5 separate regions of the Homo sapiens genome follow, and all the other regions are linked to region 1. The links are contacts of gene promoters, found by promoter capture Hi-C in blood cells and fetal thymus (Javierre and others, 2016). All regions are on one chromosome and are shown on one strand. Each heading gives the region's core, a stretch centred on a gene start or on the middle of the fragment in contact. The rest is flanking DNA. Distances are from core to core; before and after follow the strand shown.

Region 1 (5,725 bases), core at 1,394-3,893:
GTTCATTTTTTTCTGTGTTTATTTGCGGAGAGGGGAATGTGAGGGCAAGAACTGGCTTATAGTATCCATCATGGTATTTACAGCACTTAGCACATAGCAGGGAATTAATAAAAAATGAATATTGTTGATTTTACAGAGACTCCAAGAATGGAAGTAGCTTCTCAAGGTTACTCGGGTTGTAAGAAGTGGGAGTAGGGTTCAAAGTCTGGTCTGACTCCAAGGCCGGTGCTCTTTCTCTCATGACAAACTTGATGGACAGATTGGCCACCTTCCTGACTCCTTGCCTCTGTTTCCCCAGTCACAGGTCTCATCCTTACCTTGGCAGGCAGAGGAGGTGGAAGGAGGGGCAGGTAGTATCTCGGTACGGCAGACATTTGCAAATGCCATCAACCCCTCTTCTGAGGCAGCCCTGGAAGAGTCTTACCTTGACTTCTGTTTTTAATCGGGATCCCCTACCTAAGGCACACTGAAATATTAATATATTCCAGGTTATGCTCTAGACTAGACATAGATAGCACGAAACCCCATAAACAAAAGGGCCAAGACAGTAGTCCTTAGGAATGTGCTGATTGGGTTCAACCTGTGTGAGGCCCTCAAGGAAGGCCAATCTAGATAGGGCTGAACACATACCTAACCTCTGTATCTGTAGTAGGTGGAGAAAGATCCTCAATTATAAGCCCAAATACAAGGTATTAGCAAGAGAGATTTAACACCTACAGTCACACTTGGAGTTACAAGGTGTTAATGAGAAAGACATACCAAGGAATATATTTCTCCCCCCTTTGGCCGCGTGGCTTCACTATTGGTGTACAATATTTGAAACCTCAAGTTGTGAAACTCTGAACCAGGAGGGTTTCCTGTATTATGAATGATGTCATCTTTAAGATGAGGGACTTTCAGTGAAATGCGGGAACATTCAGGGTAATGTGTTTTCAGCAAGCAGGAGCTTGAATTTATGGCAGAGGGGAGTGTGTGAGTTGACCAAAATGGAGAGTGATGAGAAGTAACTAAATTATGTATGACAGTCTTTACCGAGCAGAGGAAGGAAGAAAGCTTAATGATGTTGTGGTTGAAGGAGCAGCAGCAATTGGTGATGTATGGGTTGTAGGTTGGTAAGAAGAGAAATGGATCTATGAAGACCCAAAGACTGTAGATGAGTGTGACAAAGACCAAGCGGTGGATTTGGGAGGAGGAGGGAAACCAGGGGCTCGGGATATATGACACATTTTAGCGGCAACAAGACAGCCATGTAAAGTCAACTTGAAATTAAAAATCATCATCTTAATCTATGTGGCTCTTTCAAGCCTGAGTCTTATCAAGGCAAAAAAAAAAAAAAAAAAATCTATAGTTAACGATGAAGTATTTCTCCCTTTTGCTTTCCCGGCATCCACCAAGAGCAGTACATAATTTAATTATTGAATCTACAAGCTGGACCATGAGATGAAGAATGATGTGTCTGCTGTAGTGAGAAATTAGATAGAACCAACTGTTTACTCTCATCATTCTTCCTCCGTTAGGCTAAATTAATATAGTTAACAAGCTTTTGTTTGGAATAGCAGTTCAAATCTGGGATGTGCAGATCAGAACTGGCGATTATTACAGTAGCTGTTATTTATGGAGTGCTGACAGTCCCCTCAAGTCCCATGAATGAAACAGAAAGGGGTTCTTCTGTCATTCTCTGTGCTAGAACCACTGTAAGGGGCTAGACGTCTGCACAGGGTAACGAAGTTCATGAAAACCAGATTAAGTTGCTTGGGGCATACGACTCCAGAAATGTCACTGATGGTCTTTCCTATTGCCCTGTTTTTCTCATCTTTGAAACAACTGCAACAAAATGTGCACTATATAAGTGGGCGAGCATTACCAGGAGGTAACATGCAGGTGGGGTGCCTGTGCGGTGATACGGGTCGAGCAGGGCGCGGCAGGCTTTAGCAAACACCTCAGGCCCTTCCGCACAATTTGAGCAGAAACTGAAAGCCTGTCAGGCGCAGCCAAATGCAAATCTAGCTTCGAGGCACTGAGCCTCGAGGCACAGCGCCCCCGCCGGACCCAGTTCCCTGCCCCATCCAGTGTGTGAAACTGTGACCCAGCCACCGGCCAAGGGTCCCCACGGGGACGCTGCGACACAGCGGGCTCACTCCAGAGACCCAAACCAGGTCTCCCCACCTCCCGCCCCGCCAGTTTCACGGCACTAGATTCTTGGGGTCGTCTTTTAATCACAATCTCCATAGCCGTGTCTCTAAGCAGTTGATGGAACACGGATGGTGGGGAAAACCTCACCACCGCCACCACCACCAAACCAAGCAGCCCCCGACGGTCGTGCAGTCAGGCCCGGGAGCGCCCAACTCGCGGCCACCCAGCGCCACGCGTGACCCGGGCAGCGGGGCGACCTCGGGGCGGTCTGGCACCCGGGAAGTAGTTTGTGCTCGGGCTCTGAACACCGCCGGCCGGACCGCGGGCTGCGTCACGGGGACCGGGAGGCGTACGGCGACGCGGAGCAGCGCCTTTGCGGCGTGCGACCCGCCCCCGCCGTCCCTCCCTCCCTCCCCTCAGGGCTTCGGGCCCCCGGGGCCAGCCGCCGTCCTGCGAACGCGCGGCGCCCGGGCCGCTGCCCCCTTCCGGCCCCGCGGCGGCCCCGCCTCCTCCCCCGACTTCCTTCCCTGAGCACGGCGGCGGCGGGGACGAGCACCGGCCTGCGCGCGGAGCCGGCACCGGATGGTGGGCGGGGGCCAGCCGTGCGGGTACGCGGCCCGCGCGCCCCTAGCCACCGCCGCGTGGCACCGTCCCGAGCGCGTGGCGCGGGGCGCTGGCTGCCGGGCGGGGGCCTGGGGCCGCGGACGCTGGGGGCGCCTCGGCCGCGCTCAGCCTTTAGATCGGAGAATGCGGGCGGGGTGGGGGCGCTCGGGGTCCCCGCAGTCACTCCAGGGTCGATTTCTCGGCGGGCGCCGCGGCCTGTGCGAGGCCGGGCCCCTTGGAGTGCCCCGGGAGGTGGTGCTGGGCGTCTGAACACCACATCCCTTCCTGCGCCCGTGTGTGGGTTGGGAATGCCGGGTGTAGGCCCTGGATCAGAGCTGACGGGGTTGCGAGCGGCGTGGGGTGTGCCTGGGACGGTGACCGGATGTGTCTTCCTGAATCGTTGTATTCGAGCTCCAGTTCTCTCTGTTTCTACAGCTGGGCCTCAGTCCTCACAGGGCTCTAGTGGGCGTTCAGCCACACCAGGAGAAGGCGCCCAGGGGATTAACAGGACCCTTCCCTCTCCTGCTCTTCCCTCGCCCCCCATGGCTCCCCCTCCCTCCTATTTAGTAGGTACTTCTCCAGCACCCCACAGCGATGATGGATGCTGGCCCTAAAGCCAGGTGGGAAACCAGGCTGATTCAGCACCTGTCTTTTCCTGTTAGGGGGGTTGCCAGGCCTCTCAGATGTGGGGCAGCGTAATCAGTGGGTGACCGTGGTTCCCAGCACCCACTCTCCACTGCATCCTTGTCTTAGGCACTGCCGCCCTGCACTGTAGCAGATGCCTAAATAAAGTGTGGAGCCTGAAGCAGAAGTTTTGGGAGATGCTTGCCTTCCTTTAGACCACATTCCTCGCCTTTCTCAAGATTTCTCCGTGGTACCCACCCCGTTTTTGTGTTGTCTTCCTTCCTTGCCCTTGTTTCATTCCTTTTGAAAGCGACCACTCCCCTGAAGTCCTAGGACCCCCTTCGTGGGCTCTCCCTGCCGTAGACAGTCTCTGCTTGCCCCTGGTAAACTACGTTCCAAAAACCTTGCTTTAGGAGTAGCACTTGACGTTTTTCATAGTTTCTTCTCATGTAATTCATTACTCGGAGTTGATAACTTCTGTCCCATCTGGATTATTGAGGAGAAAGGGAAGGGAAAAATTATCTGGTTAATATCAGAGTTGGGAAGGCTTCAGATGTTTTCTTTGAATCCGTCTGGCATGGATGATAATCCTGTGTGGTTTAGGTTAAGTTACCTAAGTTCTCTGAGTCTGTGTAAGATGGGATGGCACTGTCTACCTTAGCTAGGAGTAAGGCTTGAGTGACATGATGTGTATAAACTTTAACAATGTCTGGAATCTATAGATGATCAATAAATATTTCTTTTTTCCACCCTCCTCCTGTGCTGACTCCGCTTTGTAAGGGAGACAGGTAAAGGACACAACAATTTGTAGGCTGGCATAAAAAATCCTATGAGAAAGCAGTAAATAGATGAAATATTTGGGAACGTGAAGCTATAGGTTTCAAATTCAAACTTCTGAAATAGGAAATTTCTTAAGTTTTTACTTAAGACCAGAGACTGTTTAGGGCCCATGTGCTGTGATTTCTGATTGATAAATGTAGCTGAAGTTGCCCATGTTTAGAGATTTAAAGGTTCAGTGTGGTTGGGTTGAACTGGAAAACAGACTTACTAAAATGCTTCTCTCAACTTCTGTTTTGTCATGTTTTTCTTCTAGACCCAACATGAGTGAAGTTTCCTGCAAGAAACGGGACGACTATTTGGAATGGCCAGAGTATTTTATGGCTGTGGCCTTCTTATCAGCACAGAGAAGCAAAGATCCAAATTCCCAGGTAAATGAATTTCACGGGAGAATGCTTAGATACTCACAGGCAAAGAGATTACTGCACATGAGCAGAAAGGGGAGACTCAGTGGACGCCTGTCAACTTAAAAGTGCAGGGTCGGTCTGCCTTTTGTGCTGCGTTTCTACAAGCTTAGTTCTTCCTGTGAGACAGAAAATTGTCACATGCCATTGTTAACTGCCTCTTGTGCCCCTTCTGGGACTGGGGGTGCACTTTCCTTGGCTTGTGGGTGCTGCCACAAAAAACCAGGCAAGGAGACCGACAGCTCTCAGCACCTGCAGCAGCTATGCGTCTGTTTTGAGTTCTGCAGTCCCCCTGGTTTTATTCCCTGCTTCCACAGCGGCAGACCAGCCAGTTGCAGGCACCAAGCCTTTGGGCATGTTTCCTTCTAGGTCGGCGCCTGCATCGTGAATTCAGAAAACAAGATTGTCGGGATTGGGTACAATGGGATGCCAAATGGGTGCAGTGATGACGTGTTGCCTTGGAGAAGGACAGCAGAGAATAAGCTGGACACCAAATACCCGTACGGTAGGGCAAGTTTTATGTCCCATTCTGCTTAGTGACATAGCCTGGTGAGTGCCTAATTAAGAAAGTTGGTCAGAAGGCATCATCTCCCTTTTGTCATCAACAACTGGAAAGAAAAGTATCCTACTGAACTACCCCAATTTCCTGGCCTTGTCTCTTAAGTTCCAAAGAGAGCCACGGAGAGAAGCATGGTAGTGGCCACACAGGCTGGCCCTGAGATCCAGGGCTCTGCTGCCTGTGCTGAGCCTGGCAGGCTTCACTGGCAACCTGCTGGCCTGCACCACACCAGTGCACTGATAGTCGGCGTCTCTGCAGAGGGTCACAGCCCCTTGCAGAGATAGCTGAGGGATGTGCATGGTGTCTCTGTGGGTTCCTTTTTTTACTACTTGGAAGCAGGGTCGGCTAACCAGGGGCTGGCTCGGGCTTTGGTCTGATGAGAAGCAGGCTTCATTCAGCCCATGTGCCTGATGAGAACATCTGGCTCAAGCTCATTGCTGGCAAGCAGGAATCAAACTGTGAACTAGACATCAGGAGATGGAGGATCCAGTTGCTTCCTCCAGTTACAGGGGATGCTGCAATTTCACAGTAGGCTGTGGTCAGACCAAAAGCCAGAAGTGAGGCT
Region 2 (5,725 bases), core at 964-3,463, 2.6 Mb before region 1:
CCCCGCCCCATTCCTCTGCCCCCACAGGTCCCGCCCAGTCTCTCCGCCCCATCCCATCCCTGCGCCCCGCCCCAGCCTTCAAACCCGCCCCCTCCTAATTCCCTCCGCCCCGCCCTCCCCGCCCTCCCCGCCCCCCCGCCCCAGCCTTCAGCCCCGCCCCCTCCTAATTCCCTCCGCCCCGCCCCAGCCGTTAGCCCTGCCCCGCCCCATCCCTCTGCCCCGCCCCCACCTTCAGCCCCGCCACGCCACGACCCGCGACAGAACAGCCCCGGACGGTTCTGTTACAGAAAAGCAGCACCGGGAAGAGGATGAAGTTGACTCCGTTCTCCTTTCAGCGTCCAAGATCCTAAATTCTTCGGAGGGGGTGAAGGAAAGTGGCTGCAGTGACACAGGTAAAATCGCCAGACCGTAAAAGGCTCCTTTAACTATACACAGGCGGCAGCATCTGGCCTGTGCCACCTGCTCACCTGGCGTGCTTCCCACGGCCGTGATGACACGGACAGCAGCCACCACGGCACTCGCGCTTTGTGCCAGTGCTGTTCTAAGCACGTAATGGATCAACTGTTTAATTCTCACAACACTTTTACGAGGTGGGTGCTACCACGATCCCCATTTTGCAGATAAGGAAACGGGCACAGAGAGGTTAACTCCCTAAGGTCACACAGGCAGCGAGGAATGGAGCGGGCATTCAGCAGGGCGGCTCCGGACTGCCTGTCTTCACCACCACGCTACGCTCCGTTGCTTCTCTGAATGCTAAGTAAGAATTGTTGAGTTTTTTGGACACACACTAAAACGATATGCAGTCAGCCCTCGGTATCTGGGAGTTCCGCATCCTTGGATTCAACCAACCACAGATGGAAAATATTCAGGGGGGAAAATTTTTAAAAATAACAGTACCACAATTTTTAAATGCAAATTTTGAACAGTATAACAGCCATTTACATAGCATTTACATTGTATAAGGTATTACAAGTAATCGAGAGATGATTTAAAGTATACAGCAGGATACACATAGAAGCTATGCAAATACTACCCCATTTTGTATTAGGGACTTGGGCATCTGCAGATTTTGCTATCCGCAGAGGCTCTGGAACCAATCCCCTGTGGATATCCAGGGAGGGGTGTATACCTTTTCTAAAGAAAACTACTTTTTATAGTAAATATTTACGGACTACAGGATATTATATGGGGAGGATGTTTGAAATAGCCACATAGCTAAAGCTTTCAAGCACCACATAAATTATGAATAAGATGGGGGTACCCAGCTAGGGGAATCTGAGGACATTGAAGGTGGAGTCCCAGGCGACTGACTACACGCCTCTCAGAGGAGCCTGCTGTGAGGGGACATGCCGGGGAAGGAGCAGAGCACGGGGCAGGAGAAGGGTCTAGACTGATGTGCCATGCCCGGACCCCCAGTTGCCCCTCTGTAGGATATGGGCAATCCTGATGCCAAAGTGCTGAACCACAAGAGGACTGAGGTTGGGACAGGATTTCTGCACCTCCACCATGCAAGATCTTCACAAAAAGCCTTGTCAGGGCCCGGAAAGAAGAGACTAGAGCAGCCACACCTCAGTAGACAGAAGACACCCGGGTGCCCAGGCACTACCAGGATGAGCAACACCCCAGTGGAGGCCAGCAGGACAGGCACTGGCCAGTCCCCTCTCCGCCCTCCTGCCTCCACCCTTGAGATATGCAGGTTTCCCTGGGCAACCAGGAGGGGCAAAGGGGCCCCCTGAACGAAGGAGAAAGAGTCCTCACAGAGAGTTGAGACATTGAGGTAGCTCCGTATTTACCTCAAAGAGAGCATGTAAGGTCAGAAGAAATAGAAGTACCTTAATTTGGCAAGATCACATGTTTTTTGACATGAATGAGGCTTAGGGTTCTGGAGAAAGATGCCAACATTTATAGAAAATAGTTACATGCAAAATAGCACATGTACATGTTTAAGAGTTACAGTCTTTCTTGCCAGAACACAGTGTTTACAGGTCTGGGGTTGACACAGGACAGGTTCTTAATAAACACCAGTTATCTTGAGTCAGGGGCCACCCAGGAATTTCCTGCCTGCAACTATAGGCAAAACTAGGAGGTATGGCTGGCGCCCTTCTCTCTACTCTCCTACTGATGCTTTCATTGTCACCAAGTGATCCATTCCCCGTGTACTGAGAAAATAATGACCTGATTTGCATAACTACTGCCAGGTTACAAAGAGTTATAGAATGTTCCCAAGGTGTCTCTGATTTCAGAACTAGTGGTTAACCTAATTAACCCTTATTGGAATGGGTTTGTGAGAGACTTTTGAATTTGAGGGTGTCCAGGGTGTTGTTCCCAGCACCCTGTTGTACCCGAGCTTTCATTCATTCATTCGTTTGTGGAGCATATTCTTTTGAGCACCTGCTAAGTTTCAAGTGCTGTTCTAGGTGCTGGGGATCCAACAGTGAACAAGACTTGCAAGATTCCCTGCCCACATGGAGCTTACCTTCTAGTGAGGGAACAGACAGACAAAGGCTATTGTGTGTAAGCGGGGAATAAATTCTATGGAGAACATAAGGCTGAGAAGGGGGGGAGGAATATTTGGAGTGGCAGAGGTGGGTGGGAAGTGTGTCATTTTAAACAGGGTGGTAGGAGAAGGGCTCACTCAGCAGGTCACGTCTGAGCCAAGACCAGAAGGAAGTAAAGAAGCAATCTGTGCAGATTTCTAGGGAAAGAGCACCGCAGGCAGAGAGAATGGCAACTGCAAAGACCCTGTGGTGGGAGCGTGGCTGGTGTGATTGAGGAACGGTTGCTCTTGTAAATGGAGCAGAACAAGTAGGGAAGGGTAGGCGGGAGGAACCAGGACAGGGCTTTGTAGTTCCATGGATGAATTTGGGATTTATTCTGAGAAAATTGAGAAGCACTGGAGAATTTTGAGAAGGCTTCTCTCCCCTCCGTCTTGACTAGAAATTTTGAATTTACCAAATTATCATCATATTGCCTCTGCAGTAATGAGTTAGTGTCTCTTGAGCATTCACTATGTGCCGTACACCTCGTACACCTCAGTAAGGGCTTTATCTACAAACTGGACACTCGCCTAGAGTTATCCCCTCACTGCGAGTGTGTGGCAAAGCTAGAATTCAAATCTGGGCGGCAGGCAACCTGTTGCATAGCTCCTTGCATAATGACTGTGACAAAGCCTCATGCAGAGGGTGCCACACCTCACAAAGCTTTGTAAGACAGGGACATCTAGGAATGAACTTGAATTGTCACAGCAGAACTCAGTATTAGAACCTGCGGCCAGGCATGGTGGCTCACGCCTGTAATCCCAGCATTTTGGGAGACCGAGGCAGGAGGATCACCTGAGGTCAGGAGTTTGAGACCAGCCTGGCCAACATGGTGAAACCCCGTCTCTACTAAAAATACAAAAATTAGCCGGGTGTGCTGGCACATGCCTGTAGTCCCAGCTACTCAGGAAGCTGAGGCAGGAGAATCACTTGAACCCGGGAGGCAGAGGTTGCAATGAGAAGAAACTAAGAATTACAAAGCTTGCAGAGAGCCTGACATCTTATATAGAATCGTTACCCTGTTGCATTTTCAGAATGTATTGGTTCCTCTTGGTCTGTTTGCTACAGGTATGCAGTTGGTACTTTTTGTATACATTGAATACAATATTTTTTGCAGGCTCAGAATAAAAATTACCTCAAAAGTCATCCCATTGATAACTACCTTGTTTTTCACTTTTGACAGAAATATGAAGCAGCTGGAAAATTTAAGTTGAATATGAGATGAGTAATATTCTTACATTCCCAATAAACTCTCATCTTGGTGGGTGGGACCATGCCTTCCGCTTTGTTTATGTGCCTCCCGATATTGTATGTTTAGCAGGGACTTGGTAAATGGTGAAGTGTGATTGTGTTTTATCTCCTGGGTTCTTTGATAATTTCCCTTCCAATTCTAGAATCACGTAATTCTGTGTGACTAAGTATTGCCTAGTTTTTAAATTACCTTTCCTTTGGGAATAAGTAGCAGCCGATGTCTCTGAAACTCATAAGAAAAACAGAAAGTTATGTTAATAGCTTTTAAAAATAGATGAATCCGACTCCCTGCCTACTCTCTGCCTGTGCAGAATCATCTGAACTTTGCTGGAGAAAAACACTCACTTTTGAGTCATACCATGAATCTAAAATGCACTCTCAATGCTATTGGGAAAACTTACTTTATTTCCACAGAAAATTCTTCTTCAAATCCTCTGCAAAAAAGCTATTTCACTCCTCCTGTTCTCAAATCTTGAACACGTTTCTCCCTGGCCGCTCCACTCATAACATGGTCCCACTCTATATGAAAAAAGTAGAAGCACTCAGACCCAAACTCCTTCATTCTCACCCTTCACATTTGTGAAACCCATATTCTAGGTCTTCTCCCATTTCAACGGAAGAATTGTCCTTGATCAATCAAAAGTGATTTCCTCTGGATCTCATCTCTTGTGGAATTCTCAAGTCCCAGCTTCTGCAATTAGCCTCCCTCATTGTCCGGAATTATTGCTTTTCTCCCTTTCTACTATGTGATTCCAGCAGCAAACAAGCATGTTAGAATGTCCTGTGGTTTAAAAAAAAAAAAATTCCTTCTCTTAGCCAGATGTGGTGGCACACACCTGTGGTCCCAGCTACTCCGGAGGCTGACATGGGAGGATCGCTTGAGCCTTGGAGGTGGAGGCTGCAGTGAGCCAAGATCATGCCACTGCACTCCAGCCTGGGCAACAGAGTGAGACTCCATCTCAAAAAAAGAAAAAAAATCCCTCTTGACTTTCACATCTCTTCCAGGATGCACTGTCTTCCCTTCCACAGTGAAACTAGAAACAGTGACCTATCCTCCATGCCCACCAATCTCCACATTCCATTCTCTCCTCAAGCACTTCGTTCGGGCTTCTATGCATGTCCTTCTGCATGGCCAGCAGTGACATCTATGTTTGTTTGTTTATTTATTTATTTTAGATGGAGTTTCGCTCTTGTCTCCCAGGCTGGAGTGCAGTGGCACAATCTCGGCTCACTGCAACCTCCACCTCCCACGTTCAAACGATTCTCCTGCCTCAGCCTCCCGAGTAGCTGGGATTACAGGCACATGCCACCACACCCAGCAAATTTTTTGTATTTTTAGTAGAGACAGGGTTTCACCATGTTAGCCAGGATGGTCTCGATCTCCTGACCTCGTGATCTGCCCGCCTAGGCCTCCCAAAGTGCTGGGATTACAGGTGCGAGCCACTGCACCCGGCCCATCCATGTTGAATGATGTGTTCATTGCTGCTCCCATGAATCATACACTGGTAGACCCACCTGACTATTGGATATCTCTTCTTTGATGTTTAACAGACAACCTAGCCTTAACATATCTAAAAATGTTTTTCTCCTAAAGTATGTTCCTACTCTACTGTTTTCCCCCAGTAAATGACATCATCCCTCATCCATCTGCTCTCACCAAAAAACAAGGAGCCATCATTCATTCATCTCTCCTGGCCCCAACGAATCCTCCAGCAATGCTGCTGGCTTCATCTCCAAAGTATATTCTGAATCTACCTGCTTTCCCCACCTCCCCCACCACCATTCTAGTCCAAGATATCTTCATCTCCACTTAGATTATTGCGGTAGCCCTGCAATTGCCTTCTCACCCCACCCCATACTCTATTATCATGTAGCAGAGTGACCTGTAAACTTTTCAGTCAGATCAAATCATTCTCATGATGGAAACCTTCCAAAGT
Region 3 (5,725 bases), core at 1,951-4,450, 2.5 Mb before region 1:
GTATGGAACCTTCTAAAAATCTCCTCCTTTGGACTGAATTTTTAAATTCAAGCTTTTTATTTTTGTTTTTTTCCTCGGTAAGCTGCAAAAGCTTTTTATTTTTGATTAGTTCTTTTAGTTTGCTTTTTCATACCGTTTTCATTAATAAAAATGTGTGGCTGGGCGCGGTGGCTCACGCCTGTAATCCCACCACTTTGGAAGGCTGAGGCAGGCGGATCACCTAAGGTCAGGAGTTCGAGACCAGCCTGGCCAACATGGTGAAACCCTGTCTCTACTAAAAATACACAAATTAGCCGGGCACGGTGGCGCGTGCCTGTAATCCCACCTACTAGGGAGGCTGAGGCAGGAGAATCTCTTGAACCCAAGAAGCAGAGGTTGCAGTGAGCCGAGATCGCGCCATTGCACTCCAGTCTGGGCGACAAAAGCAAAACTCCGTCTCAAATAAATAAAAACGTGTAGCCATATGCACATACATTAAAATGTAAGCAAATAAAAAGAGTTCTTCCAGAAAAGTTTACAATTTAAAATTCACCATGCTTTAATATTCAGTGGAAGATGCAAACTACAGTAAGAAAACTCTTTAGGAAATTAGAATGCTTGTGGACATAGCTCCTAAGTATTTCAATTGCTGCAGGGAGACTTTTGGTAATGTAGCAATTACTTCTTTTGAAATAAACTAGATCTGTGCTGTTCAATATGATAGTCAACAGCCACTTAAGGCTAGAGTATTTGAAATGTGGCTAGTCTGATTTGAGATACGCTGTCACACCAGATTGTGAAGACAGAATAAAAGAAAGTGTAAAATATCTAATCAGCAATTGCTTTGATTACATATTGAACTGATAACATTTTGGACAAATTGGGTCAAATACTAAAATTTCATGTTTCGTTTATTAATGTGGCTACTTAAAAACTTCAAATTTCTCATGTCCTCACATCAAGACTGGAAAAAAACTCTTAAATTACATCTGTGTCTTGCATTATATTTCTGTTGGACATCGCTGCTATAGACATGTTTTTAACAGCTGAAACAACTCTTGGCGTCTGAGAAATGTTTGTGTGTGTCTGGGTTGGAGGGGACGGCTGTACACAGCAACAGTTACCTAGTTACCTGCTGGTTGAGGTCAGCGCCCGTTTGCAGCTGCCAGAGAAGAAAGCAAGCAAGGCCGCTTCCTGCGGCTAAGTGGACAGGCGACTGCTTGCAGGGATCCGGGGGTGCGTTGACCGAGGCCCCTGTCTCCAGCAAATGCTTCAGACCATCCACCTGCAGGAAGAGAACAGATCCAGCACCCTTCCCACCTTTGTCCAGTCCCGCGCCCCTCCGGGCTGGAAACCTCCCCGCCCTTCACAACCAGCTCTGACCAGGCAGCGCCCAGTGGTCCGTCCCCGCATTAACGAGAAGACGAATCTAGAAGCTTGAGCCTGCAGGACAAAAGCTCGGGCTCTGTGAGCCCGAATCTCACCTCGGGGTTGCAATCCAGCAACAGCATTTCCCGCCTAAGGCAGATGACAAGAGTCCTTGGAAGTGCAGAGAGGTGAGACACTCGCCGCACCCCGACAGGTAAGAATGCGCAGGCTGGCCCTAGCACGGGAGAATTTAAAGACCGCTGGGACTTCCGGGCCGGCCCTTGGCAGCCGCGCCCCAGCTCCGGTTACGCCCGAGCAGCCTAATCCTCAACGACCCGGACCCTGTCCAGCCCCGCCACGGCCGCACGTACACAAACACTGGCACGTGGAGCCCGGCGCCGGGGGCAGGGGGAGGGGGCGGGCGCGCGAGGCCATCCGCCGATTGGCCAGCTGTGGATGCGTCAGGCCCTCCCACCTCGGGGCGGGGCCCGCGGCGGCCCCACGGAGCCTCAGCGCGCGTGCGCAGGGTAAGTCAGTGGGCGTGAGAGGACTGGAGTAGGAGCGGGTGGGGCTCCGCGGCCGCCATGAGGCGCGCTGAGTTTGACACGTCTCCCGGTAGTGCGCCCGCCCTTTAATCCTTACGGAGAAGCGGGAGTTTCGGCTGCAGGTTTTGGCTCTGCCGGCGCGCACGTAACCAGGAAACTGGGAGCCACGCGCAGCTCCCCGTCGACGCCGCCTTCAGAAGCCGCTGTGCACTGCGCTGCTGCCGCCTCGGCGCCGGGGAACGCAAGTTCCTTTACCTCGCGCGCAGTCGCCCGCCTCCCAACCCGGGAGGTGAAGGCGGGGACGGCGAGCGCGAACTCGAGGGGATGGCTGTCCCGAGTGGCAACGGCCGAGCCCGGCCCGCGCAGGGACCCTTGTGGAGGGGCCCTCGGGGAGAGGCCGCAGCACGCTGGGGTCGTCACGCTGGTCCACGCCGGGCTCTCCTCCCGGGAGAGCGGACCCGGCCGCGTGCGATTCGGACCCGCGGGGCTGGTGAAGCCGCTGTCCGGCCCCGCGGGTGCTGTCGGGCGTGCGTCACTGCTTTTTGTAGAACATGACCTGACTTCCGATGGCAGCTACTGACGTCAGAGCTGCTCCCTAGACTCTCCCTAAGCGTCTTTCCAGAAGGATCTGCTTAGAAACCAAAGCTCCAGCCGAGTGTTTCTTTTCCCCTACATTTTTAGTGATTCCCTTCTGTTGATGCCTTTGAAAGCTCGGAGAAATAAATACGTTTATTGTTATGCTGTTAGAAAACAAGTTCATGCTTGTCCTCTAAAGATAAGTGGTCTTTTCATTCTACTTTTTGTTTTGTAGTAAGAGCCATAAAATTTGCAATCGCAAGTTTATGTTGTTATACTTAGTTACCCAAGGGGTAGTTTTAAGCATTTTTATTCATATGAATATTTGAATATAAATGTGTGTTCAAATATATAGAATCGTTCTTATATTCCACATTTTTAATATTTAAACTATTCACAATATCTTTTAATGATGTTTAAAGAACGGCAGTGTAGAGATACTGTTGTCAGATTTGTGAGGTGAGCACACGTTGATATTGCCAGTTTCGCTTTTGTTTATCAATTCAATAAGCACTGCTTTTTAAAACACGTGTTGAAGCTTCAGGTTTGCACAGAAGTTCATTTTCAGGAATTCCTAACTAATAAAGGGTATCAGACACGTTCTTACAGTTTTGAACATAAATACTGCAGTTAGCATATGTAGTGGGATATTTGTGTGGTGAAAGTGCCTCCATATTTCATATCTTTTCTTTGAAACAAGATTCTGTTCAGTATGCATTAAGTGGTAGTTATTTTTTAACTTCCTGTTACATACGTAAATTTCATAAGGAAAGGAAATTTGGGGAGTCGTTACAGCTTTTCTCCCTTTAATCACAGCGTACCTGTCCATTGCTCACATTGTTTTCAGAAAAAAAAGTTGTATCTCAGCTGGATATCTGACTTGACTTTAGTAATGGGCCTAGAAACTATAAACTGAACAAAGCTTATAATGCACAAAAACAGGATAAGTACATTTGGGGGACAATATCTTACTGGCAAGTAACTGGAGTTTCACCAGGCGTGTAGCAGGTGGGATCAATTTTCTAAAACGGAAGATGATCTAAGATGCATATTTTATAGGCGTTCTCCTAAGCAGTGCTAATTCTACATGTTTTAATTGCTGGTAGATGCGTTTCCAGAACGAGGATGCCATTTACAGCGAGTGTTAAAAAAAACGTTGGATGATGAGTAAGTGACCGAATAGATGAGAGATGTGTGGGCTGAATCTTGAGTAGTAAGAGTTTGCTAAGGAGTCCAGGAAGGGAAGAGTATTTCTAAGAAGTGTAAAATATCTTCCAGTATTGAGAGCACTATATGTAGTTCAGTCTGGGGGCAGTGTGTGATACACATGCAGCTGTGATGTGAAATAGAGAAAGGCCGACAAATGAGAAAGTATTAACCACTAACGTCTATTCCAGTTTATTATATTACAAATTGACATTAATTGAGCACTTGTGCCTCAAGACTAACGCTCATAGGTATTATCTGCATTTTACAGAAGAGGAAATTGAGGCTTAGGGAGATCCATTAACTTGTCATGTAATTATTAGCAGGTAAATCAGGAATTTGAAGTCAGTTTGACTCCAGAGCCCACATTCTTATACCTATGTGTTTTAAATAATTTTGGTCACCTCTGGTCAATTCAGGCTAAGATTGGTTTCTTTAATGCAAACCAAAGGCCTTTTTTTTTTTTTTTTTTTTTAACTCTGAAACACAATCTCGCTGTCTTGCCCAGATTGGAATGCAGTGGCGTGATCTCAGCTCACTGCAACCTCCGTCTTCCCGGGTTCAAGTGATTCTCGTGCGTCAGCCACCCAAGTAGCTGGGCTTACAGCTATACGCCACCACACCCAGCTAATTTTTGTATTTTCAGTAGAGATGGGTTTCACTGTGTTGCCCAGGCTGGTCTCAAACGCCTGACCTCCAGTGATCCACCTGCCTTGGCCTTCCAAAATGTTGGGATTACAGGCATGAGCCACCATGCCTGGCCGCAAAAGAGTCTTCAGAGAAAATTATTGTAATCCATAGAAAAAACAACTGTTTTATTTAATAATGACTGTCAGTGTAGCCTTGTTCCTGGAATTGAATCTCCCGCAATACTAAACCTAGTACTTCTTATTCAAGTAATTACTCTTGAGGGTCAGGCGCGGTGGTGGCTCACGTCTGTAATCCCAGCACTTTGGGAGGCTGAGGCAGGCCGATCGCCTGAGGTCAGCAGTTTGAGACCAGAATGGCCAACATGGTGAAACCCCGTCTCTACTAAAAATAGAAAAATTGGCCGGGCGTGGTGGCAGGTGCCTGTAATCCCAGTTACTCCGGAGGCTGAGGCAGGAGAATCGCCTGAACCTGAGAGGCGGAGGTTGCAGTGAGCCGAGATTGCGCCACTGCACTCCAGCCTGGGTGACAAGAGCAAGATTCCGTCTCAAAAAAAAAAAAAGGAAAAGAAAAAGTAATTACTCTTGCATCAGTGAATTGTGCCAGGTGAAAATTATTAAAAGTAGTTGGTGGAACCGATAAGCTAATTTTATCTATTTCTTGCTTGCTGTGGTTTTCCTGTTTCTTATTGACCAAGAAAACACTGGAAAGCATTACCAAAAGGCACAGTATTGAAAGGAGGAGTAATTGAGAATACCTACTCATTCCTACTTTAAAACATTAATTGGATTGTATATGTTTAGTAATGCCATAGAAAACTTCAGCTCTAAAGCAAGTGAAATAATGTAAAACTAAAAATCTCACCAGATGCAGTGGCTCACGCCTGTAATCCCAACACTTTGGGAGGCTGAGGCAGGCAGATCACTTGTGGCCAGGAGTTCGAGATCAGCCTGGCCAACATGGCGGAACCGTCTCTACTAAAAATACAAAAATTAGCCAGGTGTGTGGTGCGTGCCTGTAATGCCAGCTACTTGAGAGGCTGAGGTGGGAGAATCACTTGAACCCAGGAAGCAGAGGTTGCAGTGAGCCGAGATCGTGCCACTGCACTCCAGCCTGGGTGACCGAGTGAGGCCTCATCTCCAAAAATACTGAAAACTAAAAATCCCAGTAGCTGGCCTGGTTTCACATGTATTTTTTAAATCCCTTGAGAATATCATAACGCCAAAGCATTGAAGTCAAACGCATCAAGCATTTCTGAATATGATGTCTTGTTTATTGCCAGCCAGGCACCCATGGTATATCAATGCTGACCAGAGTCCACTGAGCCTTAGAAGTAACGATATTTTAATTAATAATGATATTATGGCAATAATACTTCTATCGTTCATACACTGAAGGTGATA
Region 4 (5,725 bases), core at 1,019-3,518, 2.3 Mb before region 1:
TCTGTTGATAAACAAACACTTGAGTTTTTTCCGCCTTTTGGCTATTCTGCTATGAACATGGGTGCATAAGTATCTGTTTGAGACCCTGCTTTCACTTCCTTTTAGTGTATGTCCAGAAGGGAAATTGCTGGGTCATATAATTCTATGTTCAAGTTTTTCAGAACATGCCATACTATTTTCCACAGTGGCTGAGTATGCTACATTCTCACAAGCAATGCATAAGGGTTTCGATCTTTCCACATTCTTGCCAATCCTTATTTTCTATTTTTTTGACTAAAGCCATCGGTATCTCATTGTGTTTTTGACTTGCATTTCCCTAATTAGTGGTGTTGAGTATCTTTTCATGTGTTTATTGGCCATTGGTATATTTTCTTTGGAGAAATATCTACTCAAGTCCTTTGTAAGATAAACTTTTGACCACAGTTTGTTTATTTATTTAGAGACAGGGGCTTGCTCTGTCGCCCAGGCTGGAGTACAATGGCGTGATCTCAGCTTACTGCAACATTTCCCTCCTGGGTTCAAGCGATTCTTCTGCGTCAGCCTCCTGAGTAGCTGGGATTACAGATGTGCACCACCACACCTGGCTAATTTTTGTATTTTTAGTAGAGACGGAGTTTCACCATGTTGGCCAGGCTGGTCTGGAACTCCTGACCTCAGGTGATCCGCCCACCTCAGCCTCTCAAAGTGCGGAATTACAAACGTGAGCCACCGCGCCGGGCCAACCACAGTTTAACAACTATCCCTGGAAAGTGGTGCCAACACAGTTTTATTAAGCACTTTAAAAGAAAGTGAAATTCTTGCTTTTTTTTTTTTTGAGACACAGTCTTACTCTGTTGCCTAGGTTGGAGTGCAGTGGCACGATCTCGGCTCGCTGCAACCTCCACCTCCGGAGTTCAAGCGATTCTCCTGTCTCAGCCTTCCGAGTAGCTGGGACTACAGGCTCACGTCACCACGCCCAGCTAATTTTTGTATTTTTAGTAGAGACAGTGTTTCACCATATTAGTCAGGCTGGTCTTGAACTCCTCTCAGGGGGCCCCACCCGCCTCGGCCTCCCGAAGTGCTGGGATTACAGGGGTGAGCCACTGCGCCCAGCCAATGCTGTCTTTTAGGCAACAAAAAGAGAATTGATTATACTTTTGGTAATTAAGACCAACAAGTACAAAATGCATTGTGAAGGACGAAAATAGACAATCCTTACTGGAACTCCCCGGGACAGGCAGGGTAAGACCCATATTTCCTACCCTTCTTTGCACTTAGATGTGAACAATATTTATTAACTACTGGATTGTATACCATTGCTGCTATAACAAATTACTACAAATTCAGTAGTTAAAACAACACAGGTGTATTGTCTTACAGTGCTTAAGGTATTAAGTCTAAAATCAAAATTTGCAGGCTCTAGTTCCTTCCTGAGGTTTCAGGAGAGAATCCGTTTCCTCCTTTTGCAGCTTCTACCTGCACTCCTTGGCTCATTGCCTCTGACATCACTCCAACCTCTAGCTTCTGTGCTCACAGCTCCCACTACTGACTTTGAACTTCTTGTCTCCATCTTATAAGGACCTTTGTGATTCCATGGGGTTCACTGGATAATCCTGGTTAATCTTCCCATTTTGATCCTTAATCACATCAGCTAAATCCTGTCTGCCACATAAGGTGACATATTCACGTGTTGTGGGGACTAGGAGGTGCACATTTTTGGGGTGCCATCATCCTACCATACCTGAGAGTTCAACGAGAAGTTATTGTATTCAATATATTCTGCAGAGATCATTTTTACCTTAGATTGTTTTAACTACCCACCTCGTTTACCACTCGGCAAAGGTCTTTCCATTCTGAAACCAGCCTCTGGTCCACAGAACTAACTAGTGGTATGAACTGAAATTTGCTGATAGAAAATATCACAAACACACAGCCGCCGTTCTTTTTTATTCTTGGTTTGGTAGAGAATTACAAGATAATCAAGGCAGCTTTCCCTATTAACGCACGAGAACAACGGGGCCTACCCGCGCCGCCCTAGGCAGCCGGGAGCAGCAGTAACGCCTCTAGGGCGCCATGGCAACCACGCGGGCTGGACCGCCTTCTTCCGCGGCTCTTCTAGTGTGCGCGTCCCTGGCCCGGCCTCCACTCCGCCCGCGTGGAGCCCCGGCCTGGCCGCCTGCCCGCCGCGCTCTGTGACGCCCGCCGCGAGGGCCGCACGAGGCCCGGCGTGCGCCCCCGCCTCTCCCGAAGCGCCGGGCCCCACGCCGCCCCTCCTTTCCCTTTCCGCTCTCTCCGCCTCCGGAAGCGCGGGCGCGCGGCGCCGGGAGCCCGTTCAGGGCCGCGGGAGTGCGCCAGCGCCGCGCGTGGGGCTGTGGTGGCCGCGGCTCTCAGGTGAGGGGCGCGCGAGCGGCTCCTGGCTCCCTGCTCGCGGGGCGCCCGCCACGCTCCTTTCCGTTCGCATCCGTCTCCCCGCTCCGGAGCCCAGGCGGCGGCGAGTACTCGGGGTGGGTTTAACGAAGCCTGCGCGGACGGTGGGAGACCGCGCCCCCACGACAGGGGCGCCCGCGGCGGCGGGTCGCGGCGCCGTTCCACCCCGGTCCCCTGTGAGAATGGCGGGTCCCGCCCTCTCGCGCGTTCCGGGTGGCTTTGAGGGTCAGGATCAGCCCTAAATTGAGATTGGGCCGCGACCACATGCCGGGCCCTGACGACTTCTTCCTACTTGTAGGGACTCGAACCTAACCCACGAGGCCCGAGGGGTTATCTGCCTTCCGGGGACGGTAGGGGATGTAGACAAGAGCCTAGCGTTCCTGGAAACAGGTGTTTAATTTGGGCCGGGATTTTCATGTACCCAATTGGGCATCTTGTTGGAGGCCTACTGTGCTGTTTAACTACAGAAATGTATTGTCACAGTAACAAGATGACAGTTTAAAAAGTGCCCGGTGCTTTTCTGTGTATTTTCCTGATGTTTGGTGAAAGCATTAGTCTTGTTATTGCTGGTCTGTAGGACCTGGCAAGTGGGGCGTGCCCAGTGACTCTCAGGCAGCTTTGATAAAAACTTACCTGTCTCTTTTTTTTATTTTTATTTTTTGAGACAGGGTCTCGCTCTGTGGCCCAGGGTGGAGTGCAGTGGCACGATCATGTCTCACTGCAGCCTCCCAACTCCTGGGCTCAAGCGATCCTCCTGTCTTGGCCTCCCAAAGTCCGGGGATTACAGGCGTGAGCCATGCCCCTCCTGGCAAAACTCTGTCTTGATTGAGCACCAAAGGGTTGTTATGGTCTGATGAACTATCCTTTAATTTTATCCTTTCCTAGTCTGTTGTAAAGAGAATCTTAACTACTTTATTAAGTCATTTTTCTTATTCTCTGGTAAATTGAATCACTTACCTCGTAGTAAATGTTATCAAAAGAATTGCTCAGTGGATGGGATTGTTGGGTAAATTTTCCTGTAAATTAAGTCACATGAGTGTCGAAATCTTTACAGTAACTCTGTTGGATATTATTAACTAAAATTTAAACCTGAAAAGTCTCACAGGCACCGGACTATGCACCAGGGCGCATGAACTGTGACCACTTAGGGAGGCAGCTGGCTTCCAGCTCTTGGGGACTGCATGACCTTATCATGGAAATGCAGATAAAGGCATAGTTGTGGTTTGTGCTTCCGGAGGGGTGGGGGAAGATGGCAGGAAACTATCAAGGAAACTGGGTTGAAACCCGGTGATTTTTTTTGTTTGTTTGTTTTTTGAGATAGGATCTCACTCTGTTGCCTAGGCTGGAGTGCAGTGGCCTGATCTCGGCTCACTGCAGCCTCAGCTCCCAGGTTCCAGCGATTCTCCCACCTCAGCCTCCGGAGTAGCTGGGACTACAGGCGAGAGCTACAACGCCCGGCTAATTTTTGTATTTTTTGTAGAGGTGGGGTTTGGCCATGTTGGCCAGGCTGGTCTCAAGCTCCTGGGCTCAAGTGGTCTGCCTGCCTGGGCCTCCCAAAGTTACAGGCATGAGACTGTAACATGAGCCACCGCACATGAGCCTCCATGCCCAGCCACACACATACAAGGCGATTTTTCTACCCTCGTGGGTAGCAAAGAGCATGGCTCAATCTTAAATCTCCTAACTCCAAACTCCTTTGTGGGATAAACATTCTTTGAATGACTAAATTCATCAGGTTCTCCTTTGGGTACTGGGGTTATAAAGATGAGGAAGTGACGAGGAGCTCCCAGTCTGGCAAGGAGACAAGTGTAGGGGATGGGGGGAAAAACAAAAATCCTTTTTCCTTTAGCTGGGTCTGCAGCTGGGGCTGTAAGGCAGATTAACAGGAGAAAAGGCATACGTATTTTATGTTAATTTTTACAATGACACAGGGCTTTCCTAGAAAAGAAGTGGATAGGCCAGAAAGTTTCTATACGGTGTTTAAAAGATGATAAACTGTGGAGATACGACATGAAGAGATCATAAAACCAGGTGGAGGGTTAGACCTCTAGGGATTGAAACTATGGGACGGTAAATACAGGCATACCTTGGAGATATTTTGGTTGCTTGCAGACCACCACAATAAATTAAATCTTGGAATAAAGCGAGTCACATGAATTTTTTGGTTTCCCAGTGCATATAAAAGTTATGTTTACACTATACCGTGGTCTGTTAAGGGTACAATGGTATTATGCTTAAGAAATGTACATACGTTATCTAAAAAATAATTTATGGCTAAAAAATGCTGTCAATCATCTGAGCCTTCAGGGAGTTGTAATTTTTTTTTGCTGGTGGAGGGTCTTGCCTCACTGTTGATGGCGGCTGACTGATCAGGGTGCTGAGTGCTGAAGGTTGGGATGGCTGTGGCAATTTCTTAAAATAAGACAATGATTAACTTTGCTTTATTGATTGACTTCTTTTCACAAAAGATTTCTGTAGCTTGTGATGCTGCTTGACAGCATTTTATCCAGAGTAGAACTTTTTTTTTTTTTTTTTTGAGGCGGAGTCTTGCTCTGTCGCCTGGGCTGGAGTGCAGTGGTGTGATCTGGGCTCACTGCAACCTCCGCTTCCTGGGTTCAAGAGATTCTCCTGCCTCAGCCTCCCAAGTAGCTGGGATTACAGACATGGGCCACCACGCCCAGCTAATTTTTTTTTATTTGTAGTAGAGATGAGGTTTCACCATGTTGGTCAGACTGGTCTTCAACTTCTGACCTGAAGTGATCCACCCACCTCGGCCTCCCAAAGTGTTGGGATTACAGGCGTGAGCCACAGCACCGAGCCTCACAGTAGAACTTCTTTAAAACATAGTCAGTCTTCTCAAACCCTGCCGCTGCTTTATTAGCTAAGTATACAGAATATTCTAAATCATTTGTTGTCATTTCAACTACATTTACAGCTTCTTCAGGAGTAAATTCCATCTCAAGAAACTACTTTCTTTGCTCATCCATAAGAAGCAAGTCCTCATCTGTTCAAGTTTTATTGTGAGATTGCAGCAATTCAGTTACATCTTGAGGCACCACTTATTTTTTCTTTTTTTTGACAGGGTCTTGTTCTGTCACCCAGGCTGCAGTGCTTTGGCATGATCCCAGGTCATTGCAGCCTCAACCTCCCCAGCCCAAGTGATCCTCCTGCCTCACAGCCTCTACAGGCACGTGCCACTGCAACCCAGCTTTTTTTTTTTTGAGACAGAATCTCACTCTGTCACCCGCTGGAGTGCCGTGACGCAAGCTCGGTTCACTGCTGCAACCTCTACCTCCCAGGTTCAAGTGATTCCCATGCC
Region 5 (5,725 bases), core at 861-3,360, 2.3 Mb after region 1:
TTTACCTAGTATTTGGCAGTATATGATATGATAAGTTAGAACTCAGCAAAATGTGCACATCACACTTTAAGTAGCAGGTTATCATGCTTTTGATATAATGCCTTACTCACTGGGGCTACAGTTAATGTTGCCTGTAACTTCTAAGCTGGTGGACTGGTGGCAATGTGTTAACAGTATCATGTGCAAAAGGACCAAATAATTATTTTGATTTTGTGATTCTAAAAAAGAATATACGTCATTATTTATAAGTTAAAATTGGCTGTAATCATTACATTAAAAATAAAATAACAACCTTATTGAAAGTGATGTGCTGTTTTCACTTTACTGGAATCTGGTACCATCTTGAGGTTGGAGACATCGTCCTGAGATAACTGTTGGTACAATGAACTTCAAAGCCAAGCCCCACAATTACTGTGAATGAGCCTCTATACCTGAGCATGGCAGGAAGTCATTCATTTTGTAACTTTTGGAAAACTATTTGATAATTCAGATATCAATACTTCCTCTGAATATCCTTACAAATCTCTTTAGACTTATTGCACCATCAATTCCCAATTGCCTACATAAAAGGATTGTATTAAGCATTCTTTCAATATTCTAACTGTACTTATTTTGTGGCACAACGAATATACCTTTATTTTTCTTTCTTGCAGAGTCTGGAAAATTTGAGGTACTTCAAAATATAACTTTAGTGCTGCAAAACCCTGCAGCCAACAGAGAAAATCAAGGCCATTCAAAGCTGTACTATAATGTTTCTTATTTCAGAACCAGGAAAATATATAGAAAATTACTTCCATTTCATTCAACTTTACATTGCATTATTGTCTTCGCAAATGTTGCTATGTGTTCTTTTATATATAGTAATTGATATTTACAATATTTTCAACATTACAAAAGCACGCATTCTACCTTGATAGAAATTTGTTAAATTTTAGTTCCCTAAAATTAGTACATTTTTCATTAGATTGCACAGTAAAGGTCAATCTTTGTATTTCATTAGGATAACACAGCCTTGAAATGAGTCAGAGCAGGTGCAAAAGAAAAGAAAGCACAATTCATGAATATATGACAGGAGAGCAATAATACTAATTAATTTGGGGAAGAATGCGGCCAGATTATGCTTATGGAAGACTTAAATCTTTTAAAGGCTAGCAAATAGATGGCAAAGGTCATCCAATCAATGTAGATAAATAATGAAAGTCCTTAGAAAAAGCCAAAATGTGACAAGTGAGAGGGTGGTCATGTCATTCAATTTGGGGGACTTAAATATTGAAAAGTCAATGATTTGGGCATTATGTTCAAATGACTAGAGTAATGAAATAGAGAGAGATGAAGGAAAATCTATGTGTGCCTCTATGTCGCATGCCAGAATTCCCCGCTACCTAAACTATTCTCTACAGATGAAATTATACATTCTGGTTTATACATTATCTTATCACATGCCTTACACACCTGGTAAGAACATCACAAAAAGCATAAGAGTCATAGTGCTGGTGTTCAGTCTCCTGACGGATGTTAGCTGGGGCCAGTGTGGTTGTAAATAGTGAAACGTGGGCTGTGTGTCAGAGACTCTTGCCACTTCCACGTTGTCTCTGCCTCCCTAACATGTCTGATAATGATTGATGCATGAGTTTAAGGAAGAAGCTTATTGATTCATAGAGATGTAGAGTTTATAGAAATATCAAATATGTTTTGATAGGATCCATCCCCAAAGTAATGAAATGAAAAGGATTAGCATAGGTCATAATGTGTATTAGCCACAGAGCATTAGATTTCAGAGTACACTTGAGTTCTTTCTGTTCTGTCACTAGGGGGCACTGTGAGCATGGATGAAGCCCTGTGCCCTGGATGACCAAATAGAAAAAAACCTCCCTAGGGGAATTTGCGATGCCTCTTTTCATCCAACATTACGCGTTTTTTAATAACATAGAAATTGACCCTCCCTGTCTTAAAACCAACTTTCAGGCAAGGGACTGAAACTCACCAGATGACTACATCCAGAAAATGAGATGCCGGGCCCCTCATCCACCTTGATTACTTCCTTACTCCTCCCTAATTGATTTTTTCCCTGCAGGTAGCTACATTCCTTCCCTGATATATAAACCCCCCAACTTTAGTTGGTTGAGGAGACAGATTTGAAACTTATCTCCTGTCTCTTTGGCTGCAGCACCTGAATAAAGTCTTCCCTGGCAATCTTCCTTGTCTTAGTGATTGGCTTTCTTTGTGGCAAGCAAGGAGACCTAGACCAAACCCCCGGCATTTTCGTAACACCAGTTTCTCTAGAAAATATTAGAGTAAGACTGTATAGGCAGCCAAATACAGAAGAAAGTTTAGATAAGACATATGCAAAAGAGTTTGGTCAGATAATGTTTATCTACTAGGGCTTGGATTTTCTTTTCTTTTAGAACAAAGAAAGTGATGAGAAGCAGGAAATAATTTTATTGATTTTTTTTTTTTTTTTTTTTTTTTTGTCCACATTGCAGATACTGCACTTTGTGGGTCAAACAAGGTGATAAAGACATCCCGGAATGTGGCAGTTTGCCAAAAATATACGAAACAAGATACCACAAGCTTCTCTATATAAGAATCCAAGAGACTACATCATTCCTTAAGAAACTAGGATATTTCTAGAGAACACTCTATATTATTTGCATAAATTATTCCAAACTAAAATTATAACACTAAAAGTGCCCTCTTCTAAGCATCATTATTTCTGGAAAGTCTACTGTAGAAAATATTTTAAATAAATACATTAGATAATTCCCATAGTGATGCCCTTGATAGTACTCCAAGATTTGAATTATATATGCTCATTTATTCTTTTTTAAATAATTCAAGAGACAGATCAAAGCTTTACTTTTGTGAGTTTAGAATAATATTTTTTAAACTACATCTCTCAAGCTTTCTATTTTTCATGTGCTCATAAAAACATTTTCATACCGAGCATTTTAAATAAAAAAATAATTAGTTGAAGATCAGCATGATACTTGTAATATTTTGTTGAAAATGTATTCAAGTGTTTTCTTTGAAAATAAAAGCAAAACATAAGTGCAAATTTCACAGAGCTTGATGTACAGAGTAAATCACTTAAGTACAGATATGCTTGTCCTTTGAATAAAGGAGACATGGATATTAGGATGCACGAGAGGCTTGGAAACCTAACACTGAAGCCGGAAGCCCTGTTATTTAGGAGCTGGCAGATGAATAACCATAAGTACGTGACTACACTGCCACCTAGTGGTGCAAAGAATCAGCCTTCCAATAAGGATGCATGACTTACAATTCAGTGGCAATTTTATCAACAAAATTTTTTGTCCGTGAAAGTGCAAAAAAAAAAAAAAAAAAATCACACCAGATGGCTTGAAAGAGCCTAATAAGAGCAGTTATTGCTCTTTTATTGTATATTATTTCTCCAAAGCTTCATGATTCTCATTGATAAAAACCTCAGGTGTCTGCAGAAAGGCTCTGCAAACTCAGCACCCCAGGCAGGTATGAAGGAACACAAGCTTCAAGTGTCTTTGAATAGAAATAGTATTTTCTTACTGCTTGGAAGAAGCCTGTCTTTTGAAAAGTCTGCTTAGGATTTGAATCTCTGTTTTCCTTTTCTAGTTGGAAACCAAAGACAAAAACAAAAAACTCTTGGAGATTGTTCCAAATGCATCTTTCTTGCCCTCAACTGCCAGCCTTCTTAGGAATTAAATAATCCCACTTGTGATCATTCCAGGATTCAAACTTCTAATATTGACATCTCTGTTACAGGCGACAACGATGCCAGATTATGTCTGCAAATTAAGGTCATTTTAAAGGCCTAGGGAAACAGAAAATGCCTGGCAAGGGATCAAATTCTTCTTTGAGAGAGGGTTAGAAGAACCATTGCTATTTACTCATTGTGGATTTGTTTTGCAGGGGCATTGTTATTATCGCAGGCATCAAACCGTAGAGGGGAAAAAGCTGCAAACAAAATATCAAGGGAAATAACGACCATACAAAATAAATAGCAGGCACAAACAAAGTTCACAATGCCTCATGTGAACTTAGGAAAAACGCAGTCATGCATCCCACTTCCTGAATATGTTTTCAGTGGAGCCTTTCTTTCTTCTACAGCAAACAAAATTATTCCCTTCACCAGCAGTTGCCAGATTAGCCAAGAATATAATATTCAAGCTCAGGAAGAGATTACTGATGTGTCTATATTTAAGGGGGAAAGAAACATCTAATCTAAAACTTTGCATGAAATTTCTCCTAGGTAGCATAGTACATATTTTAGCTCTCATTTTTGTTTCCAGACATTGATTGCACTCCACATAAAATCTCTTTAGCCCCCCAGAAAGACACTCTGTTGGAAAGTCCATTTACAGTCATTTAATGCAATACCTAATTTTTCTGGTGAGGTAGCAAAACCACAGAAGAAAAGGGAGCACCGCTAGGCAGAGATGATCTAGAGTCCAATTCTCTTACTCCCTGGCAACTCAATTTTCACTGCATCCTATAGCCTCTCTGTAGAAGTCAAGCGTATTTTACAGTTTTCTAAGGAATGATTGATAACCTCAACAGTCTGAAATTAAACTGCACAGCAGACAGTGGAAGATGGTATTTTAAAGTACCTGGAAGCTTTAGTATTCACTATTACACTACACTATTTTAATAAATAGAAAAGCAATGTTTATTCACTTTAAATTCATGACATCTATGAAGTTAAAGGTTTGCACAGCAATGAACAATTAGTTAAATATCACACATGGAAGCTAAACAGCAATTTGTAGATTCTGTTGCGCAGTGCCTTAATTACTTATATTGCAACTTGTTTCAGACCACTAAAGACAGGGCTATCGAAAAATCCCCAGGCAATTAAGGACAAAGCGTGCTCAAACATGAACAGCTCTTGAAGAAATAAATGGAAAGATCAGGTTTTATCTATAATGTTATTAGGTAGATAAATCACTGGCAAGAATAAACCTATGGAAAAAAATAAAGCACAAACTAAGATTAGCCTTTAGAAATCTCCTTGGAGATTATGCAATTTTCCCCCACGAAATCAATATCAGTTCAATTGAAGATAAATTACAAGAGAAATAAAAACAAGACACTTCATGAGAAGTAATAATAGCATTGTTTCTTTCACTGCATAGTAAGATCTGATCACAAAGCAGTGACAAGGGTCGGGGGATCAGGTTATATTCGCTGGCTATTTTCTCACGATGTGACTCTTGGCTGTGGGGGACATTGTTGTCAGAATGCCTTGTTGGCACTGGATTGAGGGTTTAGTTACTTTGTTTATTTAAACACATCTTTAAATTTTCCATAGCTAAAAAGAGACTAGTATTTTGATCTGTTTTCTTCCATTGAAATATTTAGGCCATGTATTATTAATATAGATCATTGATAGAACTTTTTAAAATTGTCAGTGGATGTCTAGAAAAAATATGAAAAATTTAAAAATATTCTCTTTTTTGAAAAAGTACATTTTATTTAAAAATAAACCATCAAACCAATAACCCATGACTCTATCTACCAATGAAATGGAATCTAATGAACATGAGCACATAAAATAACACTTCTGCATAATAAATTTATTTCTTGTGACATGAAACAATTTGGAAATGAGATTTGGATGATGTGTACTTTAATAGGCTGTGATTATGACTGTGATTATGATAAAACCACATTTTATAGTGCAACGCCAGCATTAATTGGCCTCAGATACTACTTCTTTTATAGATATTGT

The links. The method cuts DNA at HindIII sites, captures the fragments that hold promoters and counts their contacts. A CHiCAGO score of 5 or more calls a contact.
Region 2: a contact is called between a fragment that was not itself captured here and the fragment with the promoter of DCTD in region 1, in 2 of 17 cell types (non-activated CD4 T cells and activated CD4 T cells). The highest score is 6.3, in non-activated CD4 T cells.
Region 3: a fragment that was not itself captured here is called in contact with the fragment with the promoter of DCTD in region 1 in 1 of 17 cell types (naive CD8 T cells); the score reaches 5.7 in naive CD8 T cells.
Region 4: a contact is called between the fragment with the promoter of CFAP97 here and the fragment with the promoter of DCTD in region 1, in 1 of 17 cell types (activated CD4 T cells). The highest score is 6.1, in activated CD4 T cells.
Region 5: a contact is called between a fragment that was not itself captured here and the fragment with the promoter of DCTD in region 1, in 1 of 17 cell types (endothelial precursors). The highest score is 6.3, in endothelial precursors.

The regions. Positions count from the first base shown.
Region 1 is chr4:182,914,304-182,920,028 of GRCh38, reverse strand. DCTD (dCMP deaminase) reads left to right here and starts at 2,643. Exons shown (of 6, transcript NM_001921.3): 1 at 2,643-2,718; 2 at 4,454-4,568; 3 at 4,971-5,106. The coding sequence starts at 4,461. RefSeq lists an enhancer at 679-728 and a silencer at 2,302-3,011. The HindIII fragment of the contact is 3,169 bases long and covers 1,543-4,711 here.
Region 2 is chr4:185,465,612-185,471,336 of GRCh38, reverse strand. It overlaps CCDC110 (coiled-coil domain containing 110), which reads left to right. Exons shown (of 7, transcript NM_152775.4): 2 at 288-392. Among named protein-coding and RNA genes, the nearest start is that of CCDC110, 3.3 kb to the left of the region's middle. RefSeq lists a silencer at 1-19. The HindIII fragment of the contact is 1,979 bases long and covers 1,224-3,202 here.
Region 3 is chr4:185,392,689-185,398,413 of GRCh38, reverse strand. It overlaps LRP2BP (LRP2 binding protein), which reads left to right and starts at 2,490. Exons shown (of 9, transcript NM_001377440.1): 1 at 2,490-3,635. ANKRD37 (ankyrin repeat domain 37) reads right to left here and starts at 1,573. Exons shown (of 5, transcript NM_181726.4): 1 at 1,464-1,573; 2 at 1,112-1,264. The coding sequence starts at 1,490. RefSeq lists silencers at 1,588-1,957, 2,178-2,367 and an enhancer at 1,988-2,057. The HindIII fragment of the contact is 384 bases long and covers 3,009-3,392 here.
Region 4 is chr4:185,200,543-185,206,267 of GRCh38, reverse strand. It overlaps CFAP97 (cilia and flagella associated protein 97), which reads left to right and starts at 2,268. Exons shown (of 5, transcript NM_020827.3): 1 at 2,268-2,370. It also overlaps a transcript of SNX25 not described here. RefSeq lists enhancers at 1,116-1,205, 1,316-1,425 and silencers at 2,185-2,356, 1,966-2,735. The HindIII fragment of the contact is 9,685 bases long and covers 1-5,725 here.
Region 5 is chr4:180,662,483-180,668,207 of GRCh38, reverse strand. No RefSeq gene overlaps it. Among named protein-coding and RNA genes, the nearest start is that of LINC00290, 490 kb to the left of the region's middle. The HindIII fragment of the contact is 927 bases long and covers 1,647-2,573 here.